2 separate regions of the Homo sapiens genome follow, and region 1 is linked to region 2. The links are contacts of gene promoters, found by promoter capture Hi-C in human tissues and cell types (Jung and others, 2019). All regions are on one chromosome and are shown on one strand. The core of a region is centred on a gene start or on the middle of the fragment in contact, and the rest is flanking DNA. Distances in the headings are between cores, read along the strand shown. Region 1 overlaps PSMB2 (proteasome 20S subunit beta 2). Region 2 holds the start of KIAA0319L (KIAA0319 like).

Region 1 (6,238 bases), core at 53-2,552, 50 kb before region 2:
GATAGTACATATCTCTAGAGCTGGGTTTTGTTTTGAAGGAGGATTGGAATAGATGTCACAGTGAATAAAACATTTTTATTGGGTTCTAAAATCCTTCATTTCTAAGAGTTCAAGTTTTTTCACTTATTTTGCTTTGCCTAGATTTTTGGCATCTCAGTAAAGAATGAGTGGGTAAAGCAAGTAGCTGTATATTTGTTTGGAACTTGCAAGGATGAACAGGTCCCCAGCATGACAACTGAAGGTTTCTTTGCTTAAACATCAAAGCTTTCTAAGGCTACAAATCTGAGCCTTCCCTTGGTTGTCACCTAATGGCTGCCTCCTCTTGAAAGAAAAAGCCGTCGCTCTACTTGTCCGTAAAGCGTCAGTTTGGCAAAACTTCAGATACAGGGATGCTTTTTTAAAATTTTATTTTTTAATTGACAAATAATAATTGTACATATATTCATAGAGTACATCATGATGTTTCAATACATGTAATGTAAACAGATCATGGTAGTTAGTATATTGATCATCTCAAACATTTATCATTTTGTGTTGGGAACATTTAGTATCCTCCTTCTAGCTATTTGAAACTATATATTGTTAGCCATAGTAATTTTACAGTGGTATAGAACAATAGAACTTATTCCTCTGTCTATCCATAATTTTCTATCTTTTTTTTTTTTTTGAGGCAGAGTCTCCCTCTGTCGCCCAGGCTGGAGTGCAGTGGAGTGATCTCGGCTCACAGCAACCTCCGCCTCCCAGGTTCAAGCAATTCTCGTGCCTCAGCCTCCCAAGTAGATGGGATTACAGGCGTGTGCCACCACGCCTGGCTAGTTTTTGTATTTTTTGTAGAGATGGGGTTTCACCATGTTGGCCAGGCTGGTCCAGAACTCCTGACTTCAAGTGATCCACCCGCCTTGCCCTCCCAAAGTGTTGGGATTACAGGCGTGAGCCACCGTGTCCTGCCAATTTCGTATCTTTTAACAAATGTCCCCCATCCCTTACAGAGGATTTCTCAGCCTCTAGTATCCTCTATTCTACTTTTTACTTCTATGAGATCAGCTTTTTTAGCTTCTACATATGAGTGAGAACGTGCAGTGTTTTAACTTTGTTCTTGGCTTATTTCACTTAGCAGAATACCGTCCAGTTCCATTCATGTTGAATGACAGTATTTCCTTTTTTATGGATGAATAGTATTTCATGGTGTATATATACCACATTTTCTTTATCCATTGATCTGTTCTCGGACACCTAGGTTGGTTCCATATCTTGGCTATTGTGAATAGTGTTGCAGTAAACACTGGGGTGCAATATTTCCCCAGTGATATAATGATTTCATCCAATATAATGATTTCCTTTCTTTTGGATAAATTCCCAGTAGTGGGATTGCCAGATCATATGGTAGTTCTATTTGTAGTTTTTTGAGGGACCGCCATACTGTCCTCCCTAGTGGCTATACTAGTTTGCATTCCTACCAACAGTGTATAAAGAATTTCCTTTTCTCTACATCCTTGCCAGCATTTGTTGTTTTTTGTCTTTTTGATAATAGCTATTCCTAACTGGGATGAGGTGTTACCTCATTGTGGTTTTGATTTGCATTTCTGTGATGATTAGTGATGTTGAGAATTTTTTCCATATATTTGTTGGCCATTTGTATGTCTTTTGAAATGTCTGTTGAGATGATATGCCCATTTTTTAATGAATTTTTGTTCTCTATTGAGATATTTCGGTTCCTTATATTTTCTGGATATTAACTCCCTGTTGGATGAGTAGTTTGCATGTATTTTCTCCCATTCTGTAGGTTGCCTTTTCACTCTTGTTTCCTTTGCTGTGCAGAAGCATTTTAGTTTGATGTAATCCTGTTTGTTTATTTTTGCTTTTGTTGCCTGTGTTCATGAGATTATTCATAAAATCTTTTTCCAGATCAGTGTCCTGAGGCTTTTTCCCTGTGTTTTCTTCTAGTTTCTGGTCTTAAATTGAGGTCTTTGATCCATTTTGAGTTGAATTTTGTATAGGGTAAGAGGTGAGGGTCTGGTTTCATTCTTCTGTGTATGGATATCCAGTTTTTCTAGCACCATTTATTGAAGAGACAGACTGTCCTTTCCCCAATGAGTGTTCTTGGTACCTTCATCAAAAGTCAAATGTAGATATGTGGCTTAATTTCTTAATTTCTCTATTCTGTTTAATTGGTCTATGTGTCTATTTTTATGCCAGTAGCATACTGTTTTGGTTACTACAACTTTGTGATATATTTTGAAGTCTGGTAGTGGTATCAACTACCAGATTTGTTCTTTTTGTTCAGGATTGCTTTAGCTATTCAGAGTCTTTTGTGGTTCCTTACAAATCTTAGGATTTTTTTCCATAATTCTGTGAGGCATGTCATTGGCATTTTGATAGGGATTGCATTGAATATATAAATTTCTTTGGGTAGTGTTGTCATCTTCATAATATTAATTCTTCTGATCCATGAGCATGAGATGTATTTCCATTCGCTTGTATCCTCTTCAGCTTATTTCATCAGTGTTTTATAGTTTTCGTTATAGAGGTCTTTCATCTCCTTGGTTAAATTTATTCCTAGGTATTTTATTTTCTTTGATTTTTGTGTCTATTGTAAATGGGATTGCCTTCTTGATTTCTTTTTCAGCTAGTTTGTGTATAGAAATACTGATTTTTGTATATTAATTTTGTATCCTGCAACTTTATGGAATTCATTTATCAGATGTGAGAGTTTTCTGGTGGGGTCTTTAGGTTTTTCTATATAGAAGATCATGTCATCTGCAAATAGGGACATTTGACTTCCTGCTTTCCAATTGGGGTACTCTATTTCCTCCCCTTGCCTAAGTGCTCTGGTTAGGACTTCCTAGACACAGGGATGCTTTTGTGCTAAGTTCCATCTTCTGACCCCAGTCCTAACCTCGACTTTAGCCTCTGTGGGCAGTGGGTACTTTGGAATTCTTAGCTTTTACAGACTATAGATGAAGCACAGATAACCACTTCTCTCCTTACATTCCATTCTTCACTGTCAGTATCGTAAGAATCTGGCATGTTCATTCTTTTTTGGTGCTGCCCTCTCGCTCAACCTTAGCCACGCTAGAGCTCCAGGCCACATCCTGAAAAGAATTAGCCTGGCCTCCCAGTGACTTTCTTGATTTGGCATCTGTCAGTAATACAGCTGATTTGCCCACCAAAATAACTACTAGCCACCCCTGAAGCCTGAGTGCATAACATGTCGTCCCAGTTTGCCACGCCCACAGACAGTTCCTTTGGCTCCTATTTGGGGAGAGTCTCAGCCCCATCCTATGAATTCTCTTCCCATTGTTAAACAGAGACCCAGCTGGGAAAACAAGGCTGAAATTCTGACCCCATCGTCTCTTTCCCTGATTTGCAGCTGACTGGGGCAGATGGAATTGATTCAAACCCTGGACTAAGGGGGAGTGAAAGGGGTGGGTTATGATAAAGAGAGACAGGCTGCTGGACTTCTTCAGAGGTGGGCCCTGGCCAGGGGAGGCAGAATTCCTTCATGCTCACCCTTTACTGTAGCAAATCAATTTGCAATGGCTTATAGCTGCTGGAGCACTGGGTCTGGGGCCCCCCCAGCTGCATGTGGAGTAAGTTGATTGCAGGCTAGAAGGCAAAGCATTTTTTGCCTTTTACGTTTGTGTGGCACTGAGACCTGAAGAAGCCAGATTTGGAACTTAATCAAAAGCTTCTGAGAGTTGGATATAATGACAGCACCGGAAGTATTTGGTCTCTGTGTTCTCTTTCAGCTATCTCACGTGAGAGGGCAGTGGAACTCCTTAGGAAATGTCTGGAGGAGGTGAGTAGTTCCCATAGGATCCTGAAAGGAATGTTTGTCTCTCTGTTTGCCAGTGTTGTTCCTGTTCCTCAGTTATATTTTTTCAGATTTTTGCCAGAAGGTGTAATACATACCCACTAACCAGATGTGAAGTTGCTACCAGGGATAGAGTTTGGTGTGGATAGCAAGCTCACTTTTCTCTCACAGATTACCTCCTCAATGTCAGTTTTATAATTTAATTCTTTCTGGTTTATCCAAACCAGTGGTTCTCAAATTTTAGTGTGTGTAAGTATCACCTGGGAAACCTGTTAAACAGATTGCCATCTCTGCCCCAACCCTCAATTCTGAGTCCACTGTTCTGAGGTACAAACTGGGAAGCTCTGCTTTAACTGGCAGTCCCAGGTGATTTTCCTACAGGTGGTAACTGAGGCTGTACTTGAAGAACTTCTGCTCTAGACTTTATTTTTTTATTTGAGACGGAGTTTCGCTTTTGTTGCCCAGGCTGGAGTGCAGTGGCACGATTTCAGCTCACTGCAACCTCCGCCTCTGGGTTCAAGCAATTCTCTTGCCTTAGCCTCCCGAGTAGCTGGGATTACAGTTGCCCACCACCATGCCCGGCTAGTTTTTTGTATTTTTAGTAGAGACAGGGTTTCACCATGTTGGCCAGGCTGGTCTTGAACTCCTGACCTCAGGTGATCCGCCTGCCTCGGCCTCCCAAAGTGCTGGGATTACAGGCATGAGCCACCACGCCCATCCCTGCCCTAGACTTTATACCTGCTCTGTTCTTGTGCCACCTGTAATTGCCATACTGCCTGCTCCCTTAATAGTGCTCGAGTCTTTGTAATCTGTGAGAAAAAGCCTCCCCTAAGAATTCAGGAGGACCATAGAAAGCAACTAGGAAGCTTTGGGCAGAAGGGGAGAGTAGACTTTGGCTTGCGAGGACAGGATTACAGAACACACCCTTTCTAACACTACTCCTTAGAGTCTAAGGCTTTGGGTATAGATGGAGAATGGGGGAATGGGGAGGTCAAAAACCAGCCACATTAGTTTTTTTCATTCTTTTACTGTTCCTGTGGCTTAAGGATGAACTTGACCTCGTGGTTTAGTAAGAGAGTAGGAAGATAAGAGCAGGAGCGTTGGGAGTAATGTCAGTTTGCTTCTTACACAAACCTTTTGTTTTCAGTCCACAGTGCCCACCCCACCCCCCGCTTTTTTTTTTTTTTTTTAAGAGATGGATCTCACTTTGTTGCCCAGGCTGGAGTGGAGTGCAGTGGCACCATCATAGCTCACTGCAGCCTGGATTTCTGGAACTCAAGCGATCCTCCCAAGTAGCTGAGACTACAGACAGGCACCACCATGCCCAGCTCATTTTATTTTTAAGAGATGGGGTCTTGCTATGTTACCTAGGCTGGTCTTGAACTCCTGGGCTCAAGATATTCTTCCACCTCAACCTCCCAATTACAGGCCTGAGCCACAGCTCCTGGCCTCTGCTTCGTTCTGAGGACAATCACTCTTTGTTAGCTTATTATCTTGAGACATTTTAAGAGAGACGTCTGTGTTTACCAGACTGATGGGTAACAGACTATGGGGAACAGAACACTGGATTGTCTCATTCTTTCGTCAGCTGACTGACCAGAGACAGGCTCTTAGTTGCACCTCCCAGTTCAGCCTCCCTGCCTCCCAGTCATCCTCCAGCTGCTGTTTGGGTACCCTCTACCACTAGAGTACTAGTGCCCTACTGCCAACTGCCTCCAGTAGAATATCAGTTCCACAAAAGCAGGGATTTTTGTTTGCTTGTATCCCCAGTGTCTAGAACAGAGCCTGGCACATAGAACTTAGTAATCATTTGTTGACTGATTTCCTCCATGTCTCTCTGCAGCTCCAGAAACGCTTCATCCTGAATCTGCCAACCTTCAGTGTTCGAATCATTGACAAAAATGGCATCCATGACCTGGATAACATTTCCTTCCCCAAACAGGGCTCCTAACATCATGTCCTCCCTCCCACTTGCCAGGGAACTTTTTTTTGATGGGCTCCTTTATTTTTTTCTACTCTTTTCAGGCGCACTCTTGATAAATGGTTAATTCAGAATAAAGGTGACTATGGATATAATTGAGCCCTCTGGTCCAGGTCTCAGTTTACCTAATATTACCTCAGAAAGGATATGGAGGGAAGATGATCTTTTTGCCAGGTCTGACTTTTCTTCCTGCTCCGCCCTCCATTAACGCTCAGTACCCTTTAGCAGCTGACGGCCCCACGTTCTACTCCATGCTTGGCTTCCTTTCCAACTAGCTCTTTCATATATTTTACTTGCTAGTATCTCCATTCTCTCTAAAGTAGTGGTTCTTTTTGCCCTTAAACTTAAATTTTTAAATTAATTAACCTGAATTAATAATACATGCACTTAATGTAACATGCAAACAGTACAAAAACATGTAGTGAAAAATATTTCTTCCAGAG
Region 2 (6,815 bases), core at 1,116-3,615:
TCCCTTCACCCCCCACACACAACCCCCCCTTCCTAGCACTGCAGCTTCTGCTCTGCTGTCCCCAGCTTGGGTTCCTCCAAAAAGGCTAAGCCCCAAACTAGCTCCCATTCCTTAACCTACCTACTGCCATCCTGGCCTTCCCCTAGGACCCCTCCCCAGCCACTTCCAGCCCTGCTACTCTCTCCAGGCCCAGAACAACCATCCCCAGCCCTCAAGTACTCTGCACTAGTTACTACCTGCTGCTGTTACCCTATGAGTCAGCTTCCATCTGCTCTGGGACGCCCCAGAAAACAGACCCAGGCAGCCCCTAGTGCCACAGCCTTATTCAGTCCCATTCTCCTCTTTGCCCCCATTCTCAGGGGGAGCAAAAAAGAGCACAAAGGTAGGGGTCTTGGGCCTTCGTTGGTGCCTCCAGGGTTGCTAGCACTACGTACATATCCTTGGGGACTCACTGACCCCATTCCTTGGGGGCCCAACCACCCAGCCCTTCCCACCTCCCAATTTTCAGCCAGTTCCTTACTAGCAGCAGGGCTGCAAACTGCTCGCTGTCATTCTTGGCCTCACGGAGGGCTCCCAGGTAGCGCTCCAGGGTGGGGTTTCGGCCCTCTGCCTGGTTCAGAGCTGGCTCGCAATCCGAGGCCATGATGCTCGCCTTGCCCAACTGTGAACACAAGAGGGACTGAGCATCCCTCTGCAGAGGAGGGACGGGGGTGGGGTGGGGGTGAGAGTGGAGGATGGAGGGAGGGAGGGATTAGCACAGAGGGAGGGGAGGAGAGAATCTGGAGGGGTGGACTCCTCAGGACTGACCTCCCCCCAGAAGCCCCTTTAAGGGGCTGGATCTGCAAATCCTTAGGGATAAAGAAGGGACCCTGGTCCAAGGTCACCTCCAGAAAGCGGGAAAGAAGGACCATGCATGCTGCTGCTCAGCCGGACAGCTCTCCTCACCAGTCTCCTGGGGGTGGGCGGGAGCTGGCCCCACTGCTCAGCTGTCCCCCTGGCACCGGAGGCTGGGTTTTATCTCCCTCCACAGGGACACAGAGGGAGTGAGTGGTGAGGACAGACAGGGAGAAATGGAGACATACATGGGTGAAGTTCGATTATCCGGACTCAGGCTGACATGGGAGAAAAGGACACCCCAGGCTTCCTTTCCCCTCCCTTCTTCAGAGGCAGAGATACGCTTCAGAAGTGAGAATACAAGACGCTCAACAGGGAAGGCTTGGAGGCCCCTTTGGGGACCCCACCCCTCCAGCCAGGGCTCTCAGTCGCCCCCGCAGGCTCCTTGCCTCCTCTCCTTTCCCTCCCTCGGGTAGAGGCTGCAGCAGCAGCAGCAGCGGCGGCGGCAGCAGCAGAATTAACCCCTTGCGCTCCCTCTTCTCGCCCTCCCCGTCCCGCTACCAGCCTGTGGATGCCGGCAGGGGCTGGAGAAGCAAGAGGGGGTCCCGGATAGTTCCCAGGACAACGGAGAATCCAAAAGCCGGATAATCGAAGCAGGGCTGCTGAGATGGGGAGATGAGAAGGGGAGGAGGGTTCCTGGCGGTCACCACCTGTCCCGCCGCAGCCAGGTCACAACACGACATTGATGAAGTCACGACAGGGCGGCGATGAGATCACACTTCACGATGGCGCGGTGATGTCACGGAGAGATCACGTCAAAATCACGACATGGGAGACAGCCCCCAAAGATGACAGGGCAAATTAAAAAAAAAAAAGATATATATTGAAAAGGGCTGTGACAAAATGGAGTCTCGACAGGGCACGATGGTGTCGCGATATGGCGCGATGGAGTCGCGATAGGGTCCCCGGGGTGTGTCGGCATCGATCAGCGCCGGCTCGGAGAGGCCCCGGCTGGGATGCAGGGGAGGGCCCGAAGGGGGCTGAGCTCACCAGGCTGCGGCCCCGAGCGGCGAAGTCTTCTCCCAGCGCGATGCTCCGGGAGCCTCGGGCCGCTGCTCACGCCGCGTTGCCCACTCCTGGCTCCAGGCTGCTGCAGCTCCACCCCCACCCCCGCACCGCTCTTGACGAATCCGCGGCTGCTTCACTCCGGGCTCTGGCCAATGGCAAGTCAGGGTGCTAAGCAGTAGGGGGTGCCGCCGTTGCCGCCATCTTGCTTGTGGGTATTGCCCGAGTCTGGGGGCTGGGGCTCGAGCGAAGGAGGCAAGGTGCAGACTGCCTCTGGAGAGCGGGCGGCGAGAGGCTGGGGGCCCAGATTCCTTCGCTTGTGCGTAGTTTTACCCGCCCAGCACTGCCCCTCCTCCCCCTTGGTCTCGCGGCCGGCATTGCCCTTCCCGGGGGAGGGGCGGGAGGGCTTGGTTAGCATGGAGAGTGTGTTTCCGGGTCGGTCCCGGGGAGGTGGGAGGAGGCGGTGTTTCCGGCCGCCGTCGCTGTCCAGGGAGGCTGAGGCGAGAGGTAGCTGTCCGGGTGGGGAGCCCGCACTACCTTCTTCCTCTTCCTCCTCCTCCTCCGGGTGAGGGGAGCGAAGGTTGGGGGTCCCCGAGCCCATGGACCAGGAGGAGGCGGAGGCCGCCGAGAGCCGGGGCCCCGCTATGTGGCCCTGAGCCCCGGTAGGTGGCCGGGGGCGGCTGGCTGCCAGGCCGAGGACCATGGGCTCAGGGGAGGGGCAAGCGGGACGGGCGATGTCAGCGGCTGCGCTGGCCGGATGTTGGGTCCGGAGGTGGCGCCCCTGGCTCGGCCAGGGCAGCCAGCTGCTTCTGTCCTTGCAGGTGCGCAGCTTGGGTCCCAGGCTGAACCCCGCTTCTCTCGGGCCTGGGCCTAGTCATGCAGCTCCCTCCATCCCCTGAGAGCCAGGCAGACAGCCGGGGTTCGGGGCGCTGCCGTCCTTCTTCCACCTTCGACCTCTGCAGCCTAGTCTTTAGTTGCTGTCTCTGATGTTTGGTCTCTCCACCGAGATAGAAAGTTGGTGCAGAATGAAGAGGGGATGGGGTTGAGCACGATGTGTCCATTATAATGTGAAACCTGCCTCATCCACGATTTTGAAAATTATGCCCCACAGAGGGTCCTGTAGTGGCTGCAGTGAGCACAAAGGTGAAATGAAGGAAGTCAAAATTGATAACCTCTGGCGGGATTCCAGGAACTCTTTGGCTTCTGGTCTCATAGTGGTTGTGTCCAACTGACAGTAGTTGCAGTTAGTGAAGAGCATTAGCTGACTCTCCTTGTGCTCTCTCCTGTGATTAACAGACTGAAAACTAGGAACAAATTGGAAAGACGACCTCCCAGAACAATCTGTTCATTTTTCCAGCTATTTGGAAAACAGTGTCTGCAAATATAAGCAAAGCTATTCATGGCAGTCTGTTCTGTAACTTTCCCAAATATCTGAGACTTTTTAAAAAAGAGCTTTATTCTCGATTACTCATACCAACTGAATAGATTGTTTCAGACGTGCTCCATCGTTGTTCAAACATATCTTATCGCTGTGTACATAAATGGAGTTCCACGTATGTAGTTGACAGACTGAACTGTGATACATCCCCCATCAACCTGAAGTATTAAGTAAACATTACCCCCTGCTCTGTCTGAACAGCTGCTGCAACAGAGAGTGCTTTTATTTTGGGTGTACTTGTAACGCCCTAAATGCCAGAACTATTGTGAGCTTCTCTAGATTTTCATTTGTCAAGTATTGTGGGGGTGTGTGTTCTCTCCCTGGGTTGTTACCCTTTGATTCAGTAACAAACTATTCGGATCTTGGTGATGTGTTGTTGTTCTTGCGTTTGGTCAGCAAGCCTTTAACTGGACCCTAGCAGTGATTTGTGCCCTTAGGCAATTATAGGTTTCAGAGGAATGACTGGTTAGGAGTTCAAATGAAATTAACTCTGCCTTTCTCTTAGACGCAAGATTTATTAGACATGGCACTTCTAATCAGCTTGTTAGTCCAGTGGTGTTTATTACTCCATTTTTCAAAAGCTATTCATTTCTTTTCTGCTTCTCCCACCCACCTGTCAGGCTATTGATGACAGCTGTTGAGTCACCTTGAGTTTTAAATCCTTTTGTGGTAGGCAGAAATGTGTTGGGTAAGATTCATACACACCCATACATGCACACATGCATACTCACTCGTTCCCTCTTGGGAGGCTAGAGAAATTGCTGGATGTACTTTCTAACTTAGGCTCCATTTCATAATCTCTTGAACATGTCTCTGGCCCACACACCTCCTTTCTGCCCCCTGCTCCCTGAAATACAACTACAAAACAACTAGAAATAGGAATGGATGGAAGTGAATGAGAACGATGAAGTCCTTCAGATGCATGTGGTTCTGCAAAAGCCTTTTCTTGGGTGGGCTGCACCTTAGTTTTGCAGCTGTGTGTATGTCTGTGGCTGTTTCTTGGTATTAGTCAGTATTGGTATCCAGCCCAGGCAATGCTGATCTCCCTGTATGCTGGCCGTGGATAGGAGTTAGGGGTTGGCAGCCTGTGTCGTTTGCTGGATGTAGATGACAGGTACATAGTTGGACAGAAGTTTTTGAATTGCTTCTTCAGAACTCAGTCAACCCTCATAATGTTGCCAATATTTACGTACTAATTTAGACAATATAGCAAAGTTTTATATGAGGGGAGAAATTTATGGTAAATGAGTTTTTCTGCTGGAAGAGACCTAAATAATCCAGCCCCTAGATTCTGGAGTAGCCAGCATAGTGCCTGACGTAAGTATCTGTTGAATGCAGGGATTGGGGTGGGTAGCATTGAGGTGTAAATTGAATAGATTTTCATGATAATAGTGGTGGGCGGAGACAGTAGCAGACTGGAGAGTGCATGCCCTGCCTAAAGACATTTGCATTCAGAAATTTAAAAAATACTGGGCCAGACATAACCCTCAGGTTACTTTACCTCTGAGGGTGCAACCTCTTCTCCTCAAAAGTAAGAAAGTGTGTTTGGTCAAAGTCACAAAGCTGTTAGTAGCAGAACTGCAACTAAAACTCAGAGATCTTCTTGTCTGCGGGCTGGTACTCTTTCCATTCTACCACATAGGTGATTTACTGTTAGATTAAAAAAAAAAAAAGGAATATAAAGTTTCAGTTTTCAGTGGATTCATTTGATATCCCTTGCTGTGTTGTTATTCTGATAATTATAGGCTACCTCAAAGCCCAGGTTTAAAATTTATAGGCAGGGTTGAGCCGTTAAAGACAAACTTGAAATTTTTCTTTCCCCTAATCTGTCATATTTTCTAGCATTCCACATTTCCAGGAATTAATTATTAATTACTCGGCATGTAATTTCTTCTCTTTCTGTCCTTCTAGTGTACTGGTTCTGCCTGTCTGGAGGGCCATGGAGAAGAGGCTGGGAGTCAAGCCAAATCCTGCTTCCTGGATTTTATCAGGATATTATTGGCAGACATCTGCGAAGTGGTTGAGAAGCCTGTACCTGTTTTATACTTGCTTTTGCTTCAGCGTTCTGTGGTTGTCAACAGGTACTATTTTCTTTATAGATTTAAGATTTTTTTTTTTAGAAAAGGGCATTTTATGTGAGTCCCTCAGTTCATTTTAAGGACTATTAGGAGGCAGAAAAAACAATCTGCTAATTGACAGAAATGGTCATCCTTTTGGTGACTGAGGTCTGTTGGGTTTATTTATTTGTTTTGTTTTGGAACCAGAGTTTAAATTGGATTCTTTTTCATAAGGGAGAATTGGCACAACCGTTTTAAGACTTGATAAAAGTCAACTGGGTATTTCCACTTAATGACTATAAAACCTTGAGCAAATTACCTATTATCTTTGAGGAAGGGTTATTATCTACCTCATGGTTTGATTTGAGGGATAGTATAATTAAAGCATGTAGCACAGCACTCAGCATGGGTGCTTAGTCTTGCTATTTGCCCAGGCTGGTCTTGAGCTTCCTTTCCTTTCCTAAAGGAATCTACACTTATGGGAAAAATGCGTTCCTTACTTTTTCCATAGAGAGGGGCTATGTTGATAGATTTTTTAGACTATGCTTTCCTCCTAGAGATTATTTCACCAGGGTAAAGCCTCTTGCCAGGAATCAGTGCCAAGAAGGCTAAATTTCAAAGGAGAATGCCCTTTCTTTCTTTCTTTCTTTCTTTCTTTCTTTCAAGTTCTTTTGTTGATATTGTGCTTTCATAGTATGAGTGTGAGAAAACAGCAATATGAGAAAGATTTCTGTGTATGCTGCCATTCTGGCCAGTGACCAAAAACCTTCTGCTGTAGAGACCACCATCTGGGATAACTAATCAGCCTTTTTCCCTTATAATTACAAAGATTTCTGTTGCTTTCCTAAAGGAATTGGTGGTCATGATTTTGAGACCCTAGTAATTATTGTATTTAGCAATTTCAGTAACATCAGCTTTGGGGTTTTTGTTGTCTTGCAGTGATGGTTGATGATTGCATAATTATAGCAGTGGAAGTTGTACTTGACAGAAAGCTGATCTACATGGTTTTTTTTTTTTTTTACCCCAGATGATGCTTTGCTGGGACAGCTGACTATTTCAGGTCAACATTTTATATAAGATCATTAGAATTAAATAAGTAATTGATTTAGCACCATCAGAATAGGGAAAAATCACTTCTTTAAAAAAAAGAGATGGGGTCTTGTCACCCAGGCTGGAGTGCGATGGTGCCATCATAGCTGCCTGCAGCCTCAAACTCCTGGGCTCAAGCTGTCCTCTTGCTTCAGCCTCCAGGCATGAGCTAGTATGCCTGGCTAATTTTTTTTTTTTTTAAGACAGTGTCACTCCATCATCTAGGCTGGAGTGCAGTGGCACAATCTCGGCTCACTGCAAACTCTGCCTCCCAGGTTCAAGCGATTGTCCTGCCGCAGCCTCCTGAGTAGCTGGAATTACAGGCGCACACC

What was found. The method cuts DNA at HindIII sites, captures the fragments that hold promoters and counts their contacts. A contact is called where the count stands out against the background at its distance.
Region 1: a fragment that was not itself captured here is called in contact with the fragment with the promoter of KIAA0319L in region 2 in 1 of the 25 tissues and cell types used here (pancreas).

The regions. Positions count from the first base shown.
Region 1 is chr1:35,602,794-35,609,031 of GRCh38, reverse strand. PSMB2 (proteasome 20S subunit beta 2) reads left to right here. Exons shown (of 6, transcript NM_002794.5): 5 at 3,750-3,799; 6 at 5,658-6,238. The coding sequence ends at 5,765. Among named protein-coding and RNA genes, the nearest start is that of TFAP2E-AS1, 28 kb to the right of the region's middle. The HindIII fragment of the contact is 5,765 bases long and covers 1-4,184 here.
Region 2 is chr1:35,552,953-35,559,767 of GRCh38, reverse strand. It overlaps KIAA0319L (KIAA0319 like), which reads left to right and starts at 2,365. Exons shown (of 21, transcript NM_024874.5): 1 at 2,365-2,561; 2 at 5,249-5,418. The coding sequence starts at 5,277. NCDN (neurochondrin) reads right to left here and starts at 1,969. Exons shown (of 7, transcript NM_014284.3): 1 at 1,545-1,969; 2 at 521-661. The coding sequence starts at 1,577. RefSeq lists enhancers at 28-753, 2,132-2,191, 1,481-2,207, 2,208-2,935, 3,736-4,691 and 1 more and silencers at 1,141-1,350, 2,422-2,561, 2,572-2,671. The HindIII fragment of the contact is 15,948 bases long and covers 1-6,815 here.